Linked DNA regions of Homo sapiens: regions 2, 3, 4, 5, 6 and 7 are each linked to region 1. Evidence: promoter capture Hi-C in 16 types of primary human blood cells and fetal thymus (Javierre and others, 2016). All regions are on one chromosome and are shown on one strand. The core of a region is centred on a gene start or on the middle of the fragment in contact, and the rest is flanking DNA. Distances in the headings are between cores, read along the strand shown.

Region 1 (2,803 bases), core at 95-2,594:
GGAGAAATGTTTGAACCTAGGAGGCGGAGGTTGCATGAGCTGAGTTCGAGCCACTGCACTCCAGCCTGGGTGACAGAGCAAGACTCCGTCTCAATAAACAAACAAACAGACAGGTTTGGGAAAGCCTCTGAGAAAGGAATGGTTGGCCTGAGCTAAGCGCCATTACCCTGATCCACCTATTGTAACCACCTAATGGGTTCATTATTTTCCCTGCTCCCCAGATAGAGTCGACTTATCAAGACAGGATAATTGCAATAAAGGGTTTAATTCACATCAATCGAGCTAAATGAGAGACCAGAGTTTTATTACTCAAATAGGTCTCCCCAAATATTTTGAGACGAGCTTTTTTGTTTTTGGGTTTTTTTGTTTTTGTTTTTGTTTTTTTTGAGACAGAGTCTCGTTCTCCTTCTGTCGCCCAGGCTGGAGTGCAGTGGCATGATCTTGGCTCACTGCAACCTCCGCCTCCAGGGTTCAAGCGATTCTCTTGCCTCAGCCTTTTGAGTAGGTGGGATTACAGGCATGCGCCACCACACCCGGCTAATTTTTGTAGTAGAAACGGGGTTTCGCCCTGTTGGCCAGGCTGGTCTCGAACTGCCTACCTCAGGTGATCCGCCCGCCTCGGCCTCCCAAAGTGCTGGGATTACAGGCATGAGCCATCACGCCAGGCCTTCAATTATATTTCTGCAAGATATGTTCCCTGTCTAAAAGAATTCAATTTTTAATGTTTTTGAAACTTATGTGTTTGCTAAACAAATACGTGGGGGCTGATTTTACGATCTGAGGCCAAATCCACAAACTGATTACAGGGTCCAACAAATATTTGGCGAGTGGGAGGAGAGGGGTAAGTGAGCTGGACTGGTGGCGTCCTGGCTGTGAGCAGGCACAGCCGCAGGCTTCAGGGAGCCCCATCGCGGTGACCCTGGAGAGTGGCCTGAATCGGACGTGACCTTGAAGCAAGGTGGTTTTGGGGTCGCCGGCTGCACAAGGCGCGAAGTGGTTTAGGGTCACGGGCTGCACGAGGCTCCAGCACGTCAGGAGTGGGCGTCTGTTCATTCCCACGTGCATCGCGGCTCTCTCCTAGTTGACGCATGCACACCCCGTGGGTGTATGCGTTGTTCATTCCCACAACGGCCATCACCACCTCTCCGCACCCTCTGTCTCCTTCCTTCTCGGGCCTCACCCCTGGCCCTCGCTTTCAGTGCCCAGCCCGGACCGCAGCACTCCAGTTCCGCCCCAACCCGGGAACCCTGGACTGAGGCTCCCGTTTCTGTCCTTTCTATTGGGCGCACTTCCGATGGCGTCAGGAATTTCAGCCAATAGGAGCCAGCCAGGAAGTACCTCTCTGAGCGGTTGGTGCCGGGTATAAAAGAAGGCCGCGCAGCCACGGCTGCTCACGACGCCGCGGATCCCGAAGCCTGTGTAGCAGTGAGACATCAGTGAGGCTGCAGGACGAGCAGGATTGGAAGCGCCCCGGCCAGAAAGTGACCCCCCACCCCTTTCAGGACCCTGTGAACGGGAACAGCCATCCAGAGGGTTCAGGAAGGCGTCCGCGCCCTCACCTCTTCTCCCCATGAGCTCCCCCAGAGCTGTGGTGCAGCTGGGCAAAGCTCAACCTGCAGGCGAAGAGTGTGAGAGCCAGCGCCAGAGAAAGGACGCAGGGAAGGCTGGGGACTGGGCCAGGGGTCGGGTGCACAGAAGACACATGTGTTGACATCTCCCCTCCCTCTCCTCCTCCCCAACGCTCTTCTTTTCTCCCCACTCCCTCCCTTCCCTCCAATTCTTTCTTTCACCTCTCCCTCCCCTACTCTCTCCTCCCCTTCCTTTCTCTCTGCCTCTTCTTCACCTCCTCCTCCCCTCCCTACCTTACCTTACTCTTTCTTCTTCCCCTTACCTCTCCCTCCCCCTCTCCCTGCCTTCCCCTTCCCTCTCTTTCTCTCCTCCCCTTCTTCCCCTCACCTCTCGCTCCCTATTCCCTTCTCTACTGTTCTCCTCTCCTCTCTTTCTCTCCCCTTCTCCTTCCCTCCCCTCTCCCTTCCTATCTCCCTCCTCCTCCTCTCTTTCAGTGGCTACAGCAAACCAAACAGCCCAGCAGCCCAGCAGCCCAGCCATGTGAGTCCCTTGGGATTGGTATCTGGAAAAGGAAGGAAGGTGGGACGTGGGGATGAAGAACAGACTGGGTGTGTGGGGTGCTGGCTCCTGGGAACGAGAACTACTGATAGGGCTGGGTCTGTGTGAGAAGGGAAAGCGGCAGAGGAAGGATACAATGAAAGAGGAAGGGGAGCATTGGCATCCCTGACTTTCCCTCCGCCTACCCTACCTCCCAAGCTGAGGCTTTTTTCTTCCTCTCCTGTCAGGCGGCGCCTCACAGTCGATGACTTTGAAATCGGGCGTCCCCTGGGCAAGGGGAAATTTGGGAATGTGTACCTGGCTCGGCTCAAGGAAAGCCATTTCATTGTGGCCCTGAAGGTTCTCTTCAAGTCGCAGATAGAGAAGGAAGGACTGGAGCACCAGCTGCGCCGGGAAATTGAGATCCAGGCTCATCTACAGTAAGGACAGTCTCTGCTTCCTCTTTCATCTTTGACGTCTGAGCCCAGCATTTTCCCCAAATACTAACCCCAAGTAAACCCTGCACTTGTACCTTGAAGACTTCTCTGCAGTTCATTCCATTTACACTACCTCCTACCCTGGGTCAGACACTCGAATCCTGGTTCCTGTTCTCCGTTCTCCCCTCACTTGCTCCCAGATAGGGCTGTTGTTATTCTGGTCCCAGCATAATTTGCCACTTGTGTGACCAGGCAGTGAC
Region 2 (2,803 bases), core at 131-2,630, about 13 Mb before region 1:
CTTATAAGAAGAGGAGATCAGGACACAGATACACAAAGGGTGTGTGAAGGTAGCACGTTTACCAGAAGAACATGGCCATCTACAAGCCAAAGAGAGAGACCTCACAAGAAACAATACTGCTGACACCTTGATATCAGACTTCTACCCTTCAGAACTGTAAGGAAATTAATTGGTGTTGTTTAAGCTGCCCAGTCGGTGGTACTTTGTTAGGTATGATCCAGAGCCTCAGATCAGAAAACCAAAAATGTTCAGTTCTAACAGAAAATCACTTACCACACCAAGAACTGGGAAGATCTCAAACTGAATGAAAAAGACTCAATAGATGCCTACACTAGGATGATAGAAATATTTGAACTATTTGACAAGAATTTTAAAGCATCCACCTTAAAAATGCTTCAGACAATAATTATGAACATGCTTGAAATAAATTAAAATATAGAATGTCTCAGCAAAGAAATCAAAGATATAATGGAACACCAAGGAATTTTGACTCCTGAGAAATTTAGTAACCAATTAAAAACTCATTGGATGTACTCAGCAGCAGAAAGGAAAGAACAGAGGAAAGAATCAGGAAACTGGAAGACAGAACAGTAGAAATGACCCAGAATGAACAACAGACTGGATAAAAGACCAAAAACACAAAAATGTGTAAAACTCTACAGAAATTGACATAACAATTATAGTTAAACATAGTAATACTCTGCTGACAATTGATAGATGAAAAATCAATAAGGACAGAGAAAACTTGAACAATATTATCAACCAATTAAATTTAATTGACATTAACATTCTGCCAAACAGCAGCAAATTGCCCAATTTTTCCAAGTACATATGTCAAGATAGGCCATAACCTGGACCATGCAACAAATCTCAAAAGCTTTATAAGGATTCAAGTTATATAAAATACATTCTCTATTCCACAATGGAATTAAATTAGGAATCAATAACAAAAAGATAGCAGGAACTAAATAACTTTTTTTTTTTTTTTTTGAGACAGTCTTGCTCTGTCACCCAGGCTGGAGTGTAGTGGCACAGTCTTAGCTCACTGCAACCTCCACCTCCTGAGTTCAAGCGATTTTCCTGCCTCAGCTTCCCAAGTAGCTGGGACTACAGGTGTAAGCTGTACACCAGGCTAATTTTTGTATTTTTAGTAGAGACAGGGTTTCGCCATGTTAGCTAGGCTAGTCTCCAACTCCCTAGTGACCTGCCCTTCTGGGCCTCCCAGAGTGCTGGGATTACAGGTGTGAGTCACCACACCCGGCCAGCATTTCAGAGTCTATAGGTCAAATAAAATAAAATAAAAAATAAAAACAACATATCAAAACATATAGGATGTAGATAAAATAAGACTTCAAGGAAAATTTATAGCATTAAATGCCTATATTAAAAGAGAAGAGTGTCTCAGTGACTGATATGGTTTGGGTTTCAGATGCTCTTCTTTTTCTCTTGTTTCTTAAGATAAACACTGTATTCGTCCATCAGTGACTGATATGGTTTGGATCTGTGTCCCCACTAAATCTCATGTCAAATTGTAATCCCCAGTGTTGACGGTAGGGCCTGGTGGGAGGTGAATAGATCGTGGGTGTGGAGTTCTCATGAATGGTTTAGCACTATCCGCCTTTGGTACTGTATAGTGAGTGAATTCTCAGGAGATCTGGTTGTTCGAAAGTACATGGCACCTCCTCCCTTGCTCTCTTCCTCCTGCTCCAGCCATGTGATTTGTGCCATAAGTAAAAGCTCCTTGAGACCTCCCCAGAAGCAGAAGCCACTGTGTTTCCTGTACAGCCTGCAGCACTGTGAGCAACTAAACCTCTTTTCTTTATAAATTACTCAGTCTTAGGGATTTCTTTATAGCAGTGTGAGAACAGACTAATATAGTGACCTAAGCTTTTACCTTAAGAAACAAGAAAAAAAGAACATCTGAAACCCAAAGTAGGCAGAAGGAAACAAAAAAAAGAGAGAAATCCATGAAATGTGCACACCTGTTCATGATAAAAAACACATTCAACAAATTAGAAATGGAAGGGAACTTCTTCAACATACCACCTATAAAACACCCACAGCCAATATCATACTTAATGGTGAAAGACAGAGTACTTTCTAAGATCAGGGACAAGACAAAGATGTGCACTCTCACCACTTTTTTTTTTTTTTTTTTTTTTTGAGACAGGAGTCTTGCCCTGTTGCCCAGGCTGGAGTACAGTGGCGCGATCTCAGCTCACGGCAACCTCCGCCTTCCGTGTTCAAGGGATTCCCCTGCCTCAGCCTCCTAGTAGCTGGAATTAAAGGCACCTACCACCACGCCCGTCTAATTTTTGTATTTTTAGTAGAGATGGGGTTTCACCATGTTGCCCAGGCTGGTCTTGAACTCCTGACCTCAAGTGATCTCCCTGCCTCAGTCTCTCAAAGTGCTGGAATTACAGGCATGAGCCACCACGCCCAGCCAACTCTCACCACTTCTATTTGATACATGCTGGAGGTTCTAGCCAGGGCAACTAGGCAAATAAATGAAATAAGAGACATCCATATGGAAATGAAGAAGTACAATGAAGAAGTAAAGCTATATTTGCAGATATGATTTTATATACATAAAGTCCTAAGGAAATCACAAAAAACTAATAAGACTAGTAAATGAGTTCAGCAAAGTTACAGGAAGATCAATATGCAAAAAAATTGTGTTCTTACACACTAGCAATGAATAATCAAAAAATGAAAGTAGGAAAACAATTCCATTTACAACAGAATTTGAAGAAAATACTTAAGGAATAAAGTTAACAAATGAAGAGGAAAGTTTGTACACTGA
Region 3 (2,803 bases), core at 201-2,700, about 13 Mb before region 1:
GCCCGAGCCAGTCTCAAACTCCTGAGCTCAAGTGATCCTCCTGCCTCAGCCTCCCAAAGTGCTGGGATTACAGGTGTGAGCCACCACACTCAGCTGATGAATTCTTTAGTAGAGGTTTTTTAACCTCTACTTTAACCTCGCCTTTAACCTCTGAAATACCTGTTATTCTCTCTTGGTTTCCCATACTTAATTTGAGGCTTTTGCAATAGTATTTAAGATTACAGTGGTCCTTCCTATCCATAGTTTTGCTTTCTGTGGTTTCAGTTACCTGAAGTCAACTATGGCCCAAAAATAGGTGAGTACAGTGCAGTAAGATATTCTGAGAGAGAGAGAGAGACCATGTTTATAGAACTTTTGTTACAGTATTTTATCATTATTCTATTTTATTATAAGTTATTGTTGTTAGTCTCTTACTGTGCCTAATTTATAAATTAAGCTTTATCATAAGTATGTAGGTAAAGGAAAAACATAGTATATTTAGGGTTCAGTAATATCTGAGGTTTAAGTCATTCACTGGGGGACTTGGAAGGTATCTGCTGTGGATAAGGGGGGACTACTGTACATAGATGACTGCTTTTTTTGATAGTAAAATATGTAACATAAAATTTACCATTTTAACCATTTTTTAAGTGGTTACATTCAGTAAGTACATTTACATTGTTGTGCAGCCATCACCACTATCCATCATCAGAATTTTTTATGTACCCATTAAGTAATAATTCCCCATTCCCCCTCCCAGCCCCTGATAACCACGTTATCTCTATGAATTTGACTATATGGACTGGTTTCTAAAAGGTATAAGACCTTGCAAAATTTGGCTGTGTAGAGTGGCTCATGCCTGTAATCCTAGCACTCTGGGAGGCCAAAGTGGGAGGACTGCTTGAGGCCAAGAGTTCAAGACCAACCTGGCCAACAGAGTGATCTCTAAAGAGAAAAAAAAAAAATCTAAAAAAAAAAAAAAAGACCTTGCAAAATTTACTTTAACAGTAGGGCCTTAAAAAGACTATCATAGAGACAGAGAAAATTTAATAAAAAATCATGACTCTGCAAGATTTATGCAACTATAAATTAGATAATGTCACTGAAATTAACAAGCTATAGGAAGCACAATAATAACAACAAAAATGGTGATATTTAACTAAATACATATTAGGGACCTTATGAAGAACTTGGCACATGATGTTTCATTAAGGTACTTCACACATACCTGTGAAGAAGCTACTGTTGTATCAGTTGTGTGACCTTGGTCCAAACACCTAAACTTCTGTGCCTATGCTCAGCTATAAGAAGGGAAATGAAAACAGGATGTTAATCATAGGATTACTGTGAGGAATCAATGAGTGAATTTATGCAATGCCCTTGGCATAGTACCTGGCATTTTAGGGAGTTCTCAACAGATGATAATGACGACAATTGTATCCATTTAACAGGCGAGGAAGCTGAGGCTTGGTGAGGTCAAGAGGCAGGAACAGTACCTGAATCCAGCTTTCATACCAGAGCCAGTATTCTAAATCTTGTCTCTCTGTTGCTTCTAAAGACAAAAATAAGCAGATGGGAGTCTAAGATCTCATGGAAGGAGAAATGAGGGCTCCAGAGTTAGGGGTAAAAGACAGACACAGAAATGGAGATTGGACTCTGAAGCCAAGGGAGCTGCTTGAGGGAGTAGAGAACAGAGTTGTGAACAGTCTAGACTCCAGAACCAGCCCACCAGTACTGGAATACAGGCATGTCCAACTTGCTAGTACTTTGTGCTCTAATGTCTAATCTATAAACTGGATGTAATAATAATACCTACTTCATAGGAAGGTCAGTGAAAGTGACTAAGTATACACAAAACATGTGGAACAGTTTCTGGCAGCTTAAACAATCAATAGAAGTTACACATAAACCCATGCAGATGCTTTACATGAAACAGTCAGGGAGCCCCTCCCTTGCTGCTGTGGACCAATGTCTGTGTCCCCTCAAAATTCTTATGTTGAAGCCCTAATGTGATGTTATTGGGAGGTGGGGCCTTTAGGAGGTAATTAGGTCATGAGGGTGAAGCCTCCATAATGGGATTGCTTTCCTTGTAAGAAAAGCAAGTAACCTAGCTCTTTCTCTCTTCCTCCCAGGAAGATACAAGACAACAGCTTCTGCGAACCAGTAAGAGTGGCCTCATTAGACATTGGATTTGCCAGTGACTTGATCATGGACTTCCCAGTCTCCAGGACTGTGAGTTATAAAGGTTTGTTGTTTAAGCCACCCAGCCTATGGTATTGTTTGTTATAGCAGCACAAATGGACTAAGGCACTCACGGAGTCTGCAGCTTCACATGGCTTGATGATGGGGAAACATGGGCTGGATTCCAGATTCCACTTGACCCTTCAGCAGAGAGCCTCTGCACAGTGAAAAATGGAGTTCTTGTAGCTCTCAGGGTATGATTCTGATTCTATGGAGGGTGGAAACGAGTAAAATACCCAGATTAAAAGCTTAGTATTAGTTAATTACTGCTTGATTTATTAGTAAATTATTCTTAGTTCTCTTACTTCAGATAGAAGAACCCTTACTATTGAAAAGGGAAACATAAAACCTTCCAATCTTAGAAGAAATACTTATTTATTTATTTTTCTGAAATGGAGTCTTGCGCTGTGGCCCAGGCTGGAGTGCAGTGGAATGATCTCAGCTTACTGCAACCTCAGCCTTCCGGGTTCAAAAGATTATCCTGCCTCAGCCTCCCCAGTAGCTGGATTATGGGCACCCGCCACCATTCCTGGCTAATTTTTTTTGTTTCTTTTGTTTTTTTAGTACAGATGAGGTTTCACTA
Region 4 (2,803 bases), core at 106-2,605, about 13 Mb before region 1:
GAGCATAATGTATGCCTTAGGGAAATCCTATTGTAGCCTTCATAACAAACTAAGTGTCTTTGTGTTTCTGGGTTTGTTTATTTGGTTATTTTTAGTGTGTATGTACATCATTTGTGGATGAATATTCTGACATTTTCCCTGGCAATGAGTATTTGCTGGAATTTTTCATTTTATAATTTTATGCATTTTAAATTTCTCATTGAACACCAATTTTACCAAAGCAGTTATGTGATGAAAAATTTGAAAAATTATTAATATTAATCACTTACCTATAAGGACTCTGAATAAGATTGCTCTACATTGTCATATGACAGTTCAAAATTAAGGAATAGGGATGTGGAAGTCATATTTCAAAATAAAAAAATGTATCTGGTCACCTGGATATACAGATTGATGAGTGTGGTCAACTGCCTTCATAACTAATGTGTGTGATTCTGCTTTAGGCATAAGTCAGGAAGCAAGCAAATCCTAGTGACAGAAATAATGTGGGTATATATAGTTGTGGAGGTTAAAAAAACAGATTCTTTGAAGAACAAATGCGCATGATCAGGGAACTTAACATGACAGCAGCAGTCTCTTAGTGTGTGGAACCAGCTCGGACAAAGAGCTGATTTGGGTGCTAATTCATAGTTATACACCATGGTGTAACTTAACTGTATTAGGTTAAAAGGCATTCTTCAAAGTGTCTAGTTGAGATAGTAAGCTTTTCATAATTAATTTTCTAAATAATGTATTTTCATGATGCTATATTCATGCTGTGCCAGTTTGGATAGTAGATTGGAGGTCCCTAAGACCACCTCTGGGTTCTGTGATTTACTAAAATAACTGAGACTATAGTTGTACTTATAACAATATTACAGTGACAAGATACAAAACAGAATCTGTAAAGGGAAATGGCTCATGGGCAGTTGTCTAGAGGAAACCAGAAGCAAGCTTACCAGAGTCCTCTCTGCATGGTGTTACATAAGACTCAACTCCTCTAGCATTGAATTGTGATACTACTTGTGAAATGTCTACAATGGAAGCTCATTAGCAACCAGCAGCACAGGTTCTTATTGAGATTGATTATGTAGGTATGTGTCTAGTACATATCAAGATTCCCAACTCTAAGAAGAAGAGCAAGTGTTCCAAATAAGCTGCATTGTAGAGTTTAGGCGCAGTGACCACTCCTACCCATTATGGAAAGGTGGTAACTCTCTCAAACCCCATGTTCCTTGACTCCAGCCAAAGGCCAGTGTTGCAAACAGCTCTTTTTAAAGTTAGCAGTCTGACTTATGCCTGCTATGTTAACTTTTTGTGCATGTGGTATCAGAAAAGTAGGGCCTGCAGTCTTGTGGGGTTTTCTTAAACTATCACCAGATAATAGTTCATCTCTAAGATAATTATTTGTAAAAGAAAATTCATCAGATTACATTTTTAAATATTTTTATAATAAAAAATACCATAGGTAGGCCTTCCATCTACCCTCGTGTGTGTCTGGGTCCTCAAATTGGTCACAGGATGATATTAACAGCTGATTTGTTTTTATTGTTCATATTTATGTCTCACAGACTGCATGAGTATTTGACTCCCAATAAAACTGAATATTGAATACCTAGCTTCATATGTAGTACCTGAGCTTTTGTGTGGCCAGTATTTCTTGCCACTTCTCACGATGGACTGGGTCTCTTTTATGTATATGACCCTGGCAAGTTCACTATGTTAACTTTGAAATTGGGTACATTATTATAATTGGGAATTATTGCAGAGTCTCAATCTCTGTGTTTGAAAAATGAGGGAAGCTTCCCAAGTTATTATTCTCTGACCATATCAGTAGGATATCCATTTAAATGTTTGAGCTAAATGCCACAACATTTGTGTGTGTGTGTTTTTTTTTTTTTTTTTTTTTTTTGATACACTATGACAATAACTTCCTGGATAGATTTGTTGTTGTTTTTAATTTTTATAGTAAAAATACACTCATTTTACTTGCAAGAATAATGTCTAGACATTGGAAACAATTACTTTGGTACAGAAAAGTCTAAAAAAGAAAGTGGAAGATAGGAAGTATGAATATTTTGGTAAGGATGGTTCAGCATATCTATGCATATAGGTAACAATTGTATAGAATTTTACAAAACTAGGAACACACTAAGCATACTTGCTCCTAACAGGATTGTCCTAATATGACACTAATGTTAAAGGCTGTATAAATAAGTTGACCTCCAACCTCATTTCTAATGCCTGCTGTATCCTGGTGTACTGAATATTAATTTTTCCTTAAACAGTTTTCTGATGATGAGGATCTGTGTGGTATCAATTTTAATTACAACATGCCTAGACTACAGTCCCTAGTTATTTAATCAAACAGTAATACATATATATATATATATATATATGGAAGGCATTTTGTAGATATTTAGCCCATAATCAGTTGGCTTTGAGTAGGGATATTATGTGAGATAATGTCAGTGGGCCTGATGAATCACTTGAAATTATTTAAAAGTAGAGCTGAAGCTTCTTTGAAAAAAGAAATTGCACCTTTTAGTAGCATCTTCCTCTCGTGGGTTAGTGTTCCATCTGAGCCATCCTGGGGTATAGCCATATGTTTTTTGCAGTTGCTTAGCCAGTCCCACAGTGGCATAAGAAAGTTCCTTGCAATAAATCATTTGTATATGTCATATTGATTTTGTTACTCCGTTTCAACGCTGACCAAAAGATATTTTGTTCCAGAAGTGGTTCTAGAGGAAGAGAATCTTAAGAATGAGTTTTCTAAATCAATTCTGTGTTTTCTCAAATTGGATTTCTCATCTTTTTTAGTTTA
Region 5 (2,803 bases), core at 228-2,727, about 13 Mb before region 1:
TCAGCCCACCGCTGTCGATTCCTTGCAGGAGGGAGTGTGCAAGCGAGCAAGTGCAGGAACCGGAGCAAATGAATGCTGGAATTGGCTGGTCGCTCCTCTCTGGCGAGAGCAGGCTCTGTTATGCACGCCCCACAGCAGTGTCCAAGCATGTTACAACCCATGCTGTTTCAGCTCTGCCATCTGGGGATGGCCAAGTGCCAATCAGCTCAGTGGAGCATCAGGGTAGCAGCCCCTGCCCTCTTGGCACCTGGGTTCTTGTCCAGCATCCAGGAAGAACCAGGTCACATGAACTGTGTGAAAGGTGATGAACGCAGAAGACTTTATTGAGTGGTGAGTGGTTCTCAGCAGAAAAGGAGGCTGGAAAGGGGCTGGGAAGGGGATCAACATGTTCCTGAAGCCAGGCCATTTGTGGCTGGGCCCCTCTCCAAAGCAGCACCTTCTGAAGTTAGCCACATCTATCCATACTTTCCGACACTCAGTTGCTTCTCTGCTCACCGCTCAGCGACTTGTATCCTTGCCACTCAGCTGCTTGTGTTGCTCTGCCAGCTGAAATCTTTTATGGTCACAGGATAGTGGCAGGCAGGCCAAAAAAAGCAACATTGGGGCAGAAAAATGGGGTCATCTGTTTTCACTTAGGGCTGAGGTTCTAGGCTTAAGGGTGGAGTTTGGCTAGGTATACTGATGGGTACCCACTTACCTATTAATATTTTCCAAGTTTCAACCTTTGGAACTTAACTCTCCATCAGAAAAATTTACCTAATTCAGGACTTGGTAATATCCTGACAAAGTTTTGAACATTTTGTGAGCATGAACCATAATAAGAAACACCTCTTTCAGTATAACCTGGACAGTTTTCATGCATGTAGGTGTATGTGAGTGACTTTAGCTGACATTTCATGTAACGACACCTTTCCTGCTTGTCTCCACACTGTGATAATTTTCATTCTGGCTCCTTTCTATAAATGTCTATTGAAGGTTTTAACTTTATTTCAGCTCACTGATGTGTAGTCTTGAATATAAAAACAGTTAAAAAGGCCTGTTTATCTACATCATAGGCTTTCTTTTCATTCCAAGTGATTCTTCACATCATTGATTGTCTGATGAAGAGCATCCTCCTTTGTGGACCTCTGGAAGGACAGCCTTTCAGATTCCCCTCAGAACTGCAGTTGTCTGTCTCTGTACTCTTTCAGATAACCAACTTATCATCCATATCAAAACAGAAAAATAAGATTAAGTATTTTATATGTGTCATGCAAAATTCTTGTATAGGAATACTTTCGATTTGTAGATATAAACATTCTAAGGTGTTTGATGTTTAGTATCATGAAGGGTTAAACTAAAAAGTTTAATGGGACATTTTACAGAGAACTGCTCTCACTTCACTCCAAGTGCAAATTCGGCAGTTTTTCAAAACTACCTTCACATTCAATAATTTCCTAGAAAGACCCTCAGAACTCACTGGATGTATTTATTCTCACAGTTACTGATTTTTACAAGCAAAAGATGCATATTATAGTTAACCAAGGGGGAAAAACCAAATAAGACAGAGTCCAGTGAAGTACCAAATGTGGATCTCCTATTGTATTCTCACAGTAGAGTCGGGCATGTTACATACCCAAAATTAGCATGTGACTTAGACACAAGGAACCACCAATCAGGGAAACTCAACTGAGTGCTGGGATCCAAGTAATTATTGGGGCTCCATTACATAGCCATAATTGGTTGGTTGATTCCTGTGTGGTTATTTAGTCTTTTGGTCCACTGGTTCCCTGTGACCTAAAGACCTACATTAAATCACATCGTTATTTTTTCTGACATGGGGAATGCCACCTGCCATTTCCCATCCCCCAAAGCTGTGGCTAGTCACAACCCTAAATTATATTATTTCACTGTCAAGAGTTACCCAAGATTTGCCCCCAAGCAAACAGAGAGACTCTCCTCAGGCATGCCCCTTCAAGATTCTACAGATTACCTCTCAGATACTGAGGACAAAGTCCTGACCTCTTTTTAGTTAGGTTAACTCCTTTTCTTATTTTTAAAAATGTTTTTTAAGCCATCTTAAACTGAAAGGAAGGTTAACTTCTTTATAAGGATATATAATATACAGGCAAATATACGAAGTATTTATTATGTTACTGCTTTCCCTTAGAGTTCCTTTTGATTCATATTTCATTACGTACATAATAGTTTAGTAATTTATCATGTAAAATTTCAGACTGAGTTGGAAATTTTAAAAACAGTAACAGGTTAAATGTATGTGTCATATTAATTTTTTATTAAACCTTTTATTTCTATCAATGATTTTTTATTTGAAATGTGGTATGTTTTTTTCTTTCTTTTCTTTTTTTTTTTTTTTTTTGAGGCAGAGTCTCACTGTGTCGCCCAGGCTGGAGTGCAGTGGCACGATCTCGGCTTGCTGCAACCTGCGCCTCCTGGGTTCAAGCAATTCTCCTGCCTCAGCCTCCCAAGTATCTGGGATTATAGGTGTGTGCCACCACACCTAGCTGATTTTTGTATTTTTAATAGAGACGGGGTTTCACTATGTTGGTCAGGCTGGTCCCGAATTCCTGACCTCAAGTGATCTGCCTGCCTCAGCTTCCCAAAGTGCCTTGGTCTCCCAAAGTGCTGGGATTATGGGTGTGAGCCACCGTCCCCAGTGACATGGTATGGTTTTAGATTACTCTCATGCAAACCAGAAACCAGGGTGCACTTGGAAAACACAAACTGAACATTCGTTGAAGTTTCATACCATGTCCTAAGTGTGAACTCTTAAAAACACTGAACAGGGCATAGCTTGTCCTGA
Region 6 (2,803 bases), core at 108-2,607, about 13 Mb before region 1:
GGCGCCCGCCACCACACCTGACTAATTGTTGTATGCGTAGTAGAGATGGGGTTTTGCCATATTGGCCAACCTGGACTTGAACTCCTGACTTCAGATGATCCGCCCACCTCGGCCTCCCAAAGTGCTGGGATTACAGGCGTGAGCCACCATGCCCACCATGCCTAAAAATTTTTGTATTTTTAGTGAAGATGGGGTTTCACCACATTGGCCAGGCTAGCCTTGAACTCCCAAACTCAAATGGTCCACCTGCCTTGGCCTCCCAAAGTGCTGGGATTACAGGCATGAGCCACCGTGCCCAGCCAATGCTATGCTGCTTCTATGATGTCAACTTTTTAGCTTCCACATATGTGTGAAAACATGTGGTATTTATCTTTCTGGGCCTGAATTTACATCACTCAACATCATGTTCTCCAAAGCTTATCTTTATCTTGCCATAAATGACAGAATTTTATTATTTTTTATGGTTAAATAGTGTACCTTTGTGTATGTATGCCACATTTTCTTTACCATTTTCTGTTGATGAACACTTAGATTGGTTCCATATGTTAGCTATTGCAAATAGTACTATAATAAATATAGGAGTGCAGATAGGAGTTCAACACACTGATTTCCTTTCCTTTGGATATACAGCTAGTAGTGGGATTGCTGGATCACTTGAATGCTGATATGCATAAGAGGATCTACACTGGAGAAAAACCATGGAAGTGTGGAGATTGTGGTACATGCTTCAGTCAGGGCTCACATCTTCAAATTCAGTGTCTGTTCTGTAGAGAAACCTTAATAATGTGATATATGTGACAGCAAAGAGTTATAAGATATGAATATGTTAATTTTAGTAGATACTTCCGAAAAGTATTTCAAACTGGTTGTACCACTATAAACTCTGACCATTATTAGGCAAGAATTGGCTTTTTTTTTTTTTTTCTTTTGAGACAGTCTTGCTCTGTCACCCAGACTGGCATGCAGTGGAATGATCACGGCTCCCTGCAGCCTTGACCTCCCAGGCTCAAGAAATCCTTCTGCCTCAGCCCCTCAAAAGCTGGGACTATAGGCATGCAACAACACGCCTGGCTAAATTTTTGTTGTAGAGATGGGGTCTCACTATGTTGCCCAAATTGGTCTCAAACTCCTGGGCTCAAGCGATTCTCCCTCCTCAGCCTTCCAAAGTGCTGGGATTACAGGCCTGAGCCATGCGCACAGCATTTTGTTTTGTTTTGTTTTGTTTTTGAGATGGGGTCTCTCGGTGTTGCCCAGGCTGGATTGCTTATTCACAGATGCAGTTACAGTGCCCTATAGCCTCGAACTCCTGGGCCTAAGTGATCCTCTTGCTTCAATCCCCTGAGAAGCTGGGACTACAGGCATGGACCACCACCCCTGATTGATCTTCTTTAGTTTCTATAACAAAATAGTACACTGTTTCCACAAACTTGGGAAGGCTAGTATTTGGGGGTGGGGGGCGTGGAAATCACTAAACAACAAAGAAAATCTGATGAATTGGACAGCATAAAAATATTGGCATAAAGATGAACATAACATAAGCAGGAATATTTAAAGCACATACTTTTTATAGAGTGTCTCCCCTGTAATGTCTCTGGTTAAATGAAAGGGTTTCAAATGTGAAGACAACCCTAACCATACTCATTATCTGTAAAAGATGTAGCATTGTCATGGACTCCTTAATAAACGTGAAGACTTTAATCCATCTGAAGGTGCATCACATTTCTGAAGTTTCCAACACTGACAAGGTGATGGGCTTATGGATGAAAACTCATGAATGGGAAAAACTCAGCTATCGTTAAAGCCCATATATTTTATTAAAGATATTGGGGCTGTCTCCTAAATCTAGTTAGTGATGAATTTCAAGTCTAGAGCCATCACCGAATCCTTGTCCACATTCATTACACATAGGTTTTCTGAGAAAATTGTCTGCTGGTTATGAGAGGTCTTCTCCCGTGCCAAAGTGAGTATAATAACCTTGCTTTTGGCCAGGTGCGGTGGCTCACACCTGTAATCCCAGCGCTTTGGGAGGCCGAGGTGGGCAGAGTGCCTGAGGTCAGGAGTTTGAGACTAGTCTGGCCAACATGGTGAAAACCCATCACTATTAAAAATACAAAACAATTAGCTGGGTGTGGTGGTGGCGTGTGCCTGTAATCCCAGCTACTCAGGAGGCTGAGGCAAGGGAATTGCTTGAACCAGGGAGGTGGAGGTTGCGGTGAGCCGAGATCACGCCACTGCACTCCAGCCTGAGTGACAGAGTGAGACTCCATCTCAAAAAAATAAAAATAAAAATAAAAGTAAACAAGCTTGCTTTCTTTTATGTGCTCCTTGATTTTGATGGTGATGTGAAATCAAACTGAAGCTGAAAATACAATAATCACATTTATACAGGGCATTTTTCAAGGAAATTTATTGATTTTTACTTTAATAATTTAGTGCCTCACTTTTGTAAGTCTCTTGTAAGTGGCCAGGCATGGTGGCTCACACCTGTAATTCCAGCACTTTGGGAGGCTGAGGCAGAAGGATCAATTGAATCTAAGAGTTTGAGACCAGCTTTTTACAGAGTGTCTCCCCTATAATGTCTCTGGTTAAATGAAAGATTTTCAACTGTGAAGACAACCCTAACCATACTCATATTCTAGTTCCTTTGCCTTTCCATATAAATTTTAGAATAATTTTATATCTACAAAATATCTTGCTGGAATTTTGATAGTAATTATTTTAACCCTGTGTATCAATTTGGGGAGAATGAACATTTTTGCTATATTGAGTCCCACGATCCTCAAACATGGAATGTGTCTCCATT
Region 7 (2,803 bases), core at 149-2,648, about 13 Mb before region 1:
CTATGCAGACATCAAATGGGAAAAGGTAAATTTTTAGCTGTGGATATTGGAAGATGTTCAGAATATATTAACTTGAAAAACAAAATGTGAGATTTTTATGTGATCCTATTTTGTAAAAACGCATAGATGAATGGGTATTATAGTTCTCTCTAAATAATGGGATTTTACTTTATGTATATTTTTATATTTCTTTAAACTTATTTTGAAATAATTTGAAACTTTCAGAAAAATTACAGAAATTATATAAAAGCTCCCATATACTCTTTACCCAGATTCACCAGTTGTTAAGATGTTTGAATTATTCTCTCAATAAGTATGAGCGTGTATATACTGATACTTATACATACTAAACGCATTTATATATAAAGTTTTGCCATATGAATATGTTACAGACATCCTTCTCCCTACACTAAATACTTAAGTGTGCTTTCCTAAGAACAAGGATATCTACTTAGTTACAGTACAACATTCCAGTGATTTATTTATTTAGAGACAGGGTCTCATTCTGTTGCCCAGGCTGAGTGCAGGGTGGTGATTATAGCTCACCGCAGCCTTGAACTCCTGGGCTCAAGCAATCCTCCCCACTCAGCCTTTCAAGTAGCTGGGACTGCAGGCGTGGACCACCATGCCCACCTAATTTTTAAGATTTTTGTAGAGATGGGCTCTCGCTATGTTGTCTAAGCTGGTATCGAACTCTTGGGCTTAAGTGATCGTTCCACCTCAGCCTTCCAAAATGCAAGGTTTACAGGCATGAGCCACTGCACCCAGAAAGAAAATTTATTATTGATACATAACACTATGTAACCTACAGACCTTATTTAAATCTTAAAATTATCCCAATAATATATTTATTGTTTTTCTGCTCTAGAGTCCAAAGATTACACATTGCATTTAGACTCCTTTAATCTGAGTTGCTACCTCTGTTTTTAATGACCTTGATATTTTTGAGATTATTTTGTAGAATGTCTCTTAATTTGGATTTGCCTGAGGTTTCCTTACAATTGGATTTAAATTACACATTTTTTTCCCATGAGGACTCTGTAAGTGGTGTGCAGCACGTGAGGAAACGAGGTATGTTTGTACCTTTATAGGTGATGTTAACTTGGAACACTTGATTGGGGAGGGCGGTGCTGGGTTTTTCCACTGCGAAATTACTATTTTTTTCTTTGTAATTAATAATTACAAAGGCAACTCCTGGGGAGACACTTTCTGACTCTAAATAGCTTGTTTTTCAGTAAATTTTCCTCCACTAGTTTAAGCATTCTGTAAGTCTGGTCTAAATCAGTAATTGCTCTGATGGTGCGAAAGTGTGATATATTCAACTTTCATCATTCCTCCAACACTTGTTAGATTGTTGTTCTACTCTAAGGAAGTTTCCCTTCTGTCCTGTTTGCCCATCATGTATTTTTAAATAAATTGGAGCACATCTTTACTCTGACACAATACAGTGTTCCAAGCTCATCTTGTACCCTTCCTGCACCATCCATGGAATTTGCTGTTTCTTTGAGAACTCAGATTCTTCTGATTGGGGGATGGTAGTTAAACATCAAGATCTGGGTAATAGCTGTGCCTTTTTTTTTTTCCCTCTAGGAAGGAGGGGAAAGAGTTATACAGATAGGAAGAGAAGTAGAAAGGTAGAAAGAATTAATGATGAGTTCCTGCTTTTATCTCTAGTTCTTAAATTAATATCATAGTGTTTTTTTTCTAGCCTTACCCCCATTCTATGTTGCATCTTCATTCTTCAAGAATCAGAAATTTGTCTCCCAGTATCATTCATATATTTACTGGGGAATGTGGACATGCATCCAACTAGAACTTGGGGGTTCTGTCTTTCAGAGAGAACGGGAGTATTGGATGACTGATGCCAGAGATGATTTTTGAATGGCATAGTCTCCCAAACATTATAATTTTTCCTATTCTCAGGGTATTGACCCTTTAAACCAAATAAAATGTTCCCGTAGGGCCATGAAGAAAAGTATCTGATAGAAATATCCAAAGATAGATATATTCAGATGAGAGCCTTCCAGTCAATGTTTCCTTGCAGATAGTGTTAAGGAATGGTTTCTGGTGAAGTGTTGCGGAGCTCTCCTAGCCTGTGAGTGTCACGGATGCCATTGATTAGCATTGCTTTACTTTATTTACCTCTCATTCTCTGAACCTTCTCAGAGGTAGTTTGACAAAGTTCTCAAAGCACATCCCTCTACTGCTTCTTGAGAGGACCAAGGCATTTTAGGAGAAACTAGTGTTAACGAGACCAAGTCAGAATATTGGTAATAAAGTAGTAGAGTATAATAGAAAGCAGACTGTCAGCCAGGCACAGTGGCTCACACCTATAGTCTCAACTACTCAGGAGGCTGAGGTGGGAGGATCACTTGAGCCCAGGAGTTTGAAGCTGCAGTGAGCTGTGATTGGACCACTGCATTCCAGCCTGGGTGACAGTGAGACCCCATCTTGAAAAAGCCAACTGGGTGCAGTGGCTCCCGCCTTTAATCCCAGCACTTTGGCTGGCCGAAGTGGGTGGATCACCTGAGGTTAGGAGTTCCAGACCAGTCTAGTCAACATGGTGAAGCCCTGTCTCTACTAAAAATACAAAAAGTTAGCCAGGCGTGGTGGTTAGCCCCTGTAATCCTAGCTATTCGGCTGAGGCAGGAGAATCAATTGAACCCAGCAGGTGGATGTTGTAGTGAGCTCAGATCGTGCCATTGCACTCCAGCCTGGGCAACGAGTGAAACTCCATCTCAAAAAAAAAAAAAAAAAAAGAAAAGAAGAAAAGAAAAAGCCAACCCTGGAACCCTGGAATTAG

The links. Contacts are between HindIII fragments. The CHiCAGO score rates a contact against its expected background, and 5 or more counts as called.
Region 2: a contact is called between a fragment that was not itself captured here and the fragment with the promoter of AURKC in region 1, in 1 of 17 cell types (non-activated CD4 T cells). The highest score is 6.7, in non-activated CD4 T cells.
Region 3: a contact is called between a fragment that was not itself captured here and the fragment with the promoter of AURKC in region 1, in 1 of 17 cell types (non-activated CD4 T cells). The highest score is 8.1, in non-activated CD4 T cells.
Region 4: a fragment that was not itself captured here is called in contact with the fragment with the promoter of AURKC in region 1 in 1 of 17 cell types (non-activated CD4 T cells); the score reaches 6.1 in non-activated CD4 T cells.
Region 5: a fragment that was not itself captured here is called in contact with the fragment with the promoter of AURKC in region 1 in 1 of 17 cell types (non-activated CD4 T cells); the score reaches 6.7 in non-activated CD4 T cells.
Region 6: a contact is called between a fragment that was not itself captured here and the fragment with the promoter of AURKC in region 1, in 1 of 17 cell types (non-activated CD4 T cells). The highest score is 8.1, in non-activated CD4 T cells.
Region 7: a contact is called between a fragment that was not itself captured here and the fragment with the promoter of AURKC in region 1, in 1 of 17 cell types (total CD4 T cells). The highest score is 5.4, in total CD4 T cells.

What each region holds. Positions count from the first base shown.
Region 1 is chr19:57,229,679-57,232,481 of GRCh38, forward strand. AURKC (aurora kinase C) reads left to right here and starts at 1,345. Exons shown (of 7, transcript NM_001015878.2): 1 at 1,345-1,628; 2 at 2,064-2,109; 3 at 2,355-2,546. The coding sequence starts at 1,571. The HindIII fragment of the contact is 17,293 bases long and covers 1-2,803 here.
Region 2 is chr19:43,904,025-43,906,827 of GRCh38, forward strand. The region is part of intron 1 of ZNF45-AS1 (ZNF45 antisense RNA 1); the gene reads left to right. Among named protein-coding and RNA genes, the nearest start is that of ZNF45-AS1, 3.6 kb to the left of the region's middle. The HindIII fragment of the contact is 1,010 bases long and covers 876-1,885 here.
Region 3 is chr19:43,923,031-43,925,833 of GRCh38, forward strand. ZNF45 (zinc finger protein 45) reads right to left here. Exons shown (of 10, transcript NM_003425.4): 4 at 2,295-2,428; 5 at 1,372-1,531; 6 at 1,208-1,280. It overlaps ZNF45-AS1 (ZNF45 antisense RNA 1), which reads left to right. Exons shown (of 3, transcript NR_184050.1): 2 at 2,112-2,224. Among named protein-coding and RNA genes, the nearest start is that of ZNF45, 11 kb to the right of the region's middle. The HindIII fragment of the contact is 2,032 bases long and covers 435-2,466 here.
Region 4 is chr19:43,977,067-43,979,869 of GRCh38, forward strand. It overlaps a transcript of ZNF221 not described here. Among named protein-coding and RNA genes, the nearest start is that of ZNF155, 5.7 kb to the right of the region's middle. The HindIII fragment of the contact is 848 bases long and covers 932-1,779 here.
Region 5 is chr19:44,063,237-44,066,039 of GRCh38, forward strand. The region is part of intron 4 of ZNF223 (zinc finger protein 223); the gene reads left to right. Among named protein-coding and RNA genes, the nearest start is that of ZNF284, 7.5 kb to the right of the region's middle. The HindIII fragment of the contact is 3,327 bases long and covers 1-2,803 here.
Region 6 is chr19:44,087,912-44,090,714 of GRCh38, forward strand. ZNF284 (zinc finger protein 284) reads left to right here. Exons shown (of 5, transcript NM_001037813.4): 5 at 1-1,702. Among named protein-coding and RNA genes, the nearest start is that of ZNF224, 5.0 kb to the right of the region's middle. The HindIII fragment of the contact is 1,887 bases long and covers 415-2,301 here.
Region 7 is chr19:44,237,816-44,240,618 of GRCh38, forward strand. No RefSeq gene overlaps it. Among named protein-coding and RNA genes, the nearest start is that of ZNF233, 21 kb to the right of the region's middle. The HindIII fragment of the contact is 4,782 bases long and covers 1-2,803 here.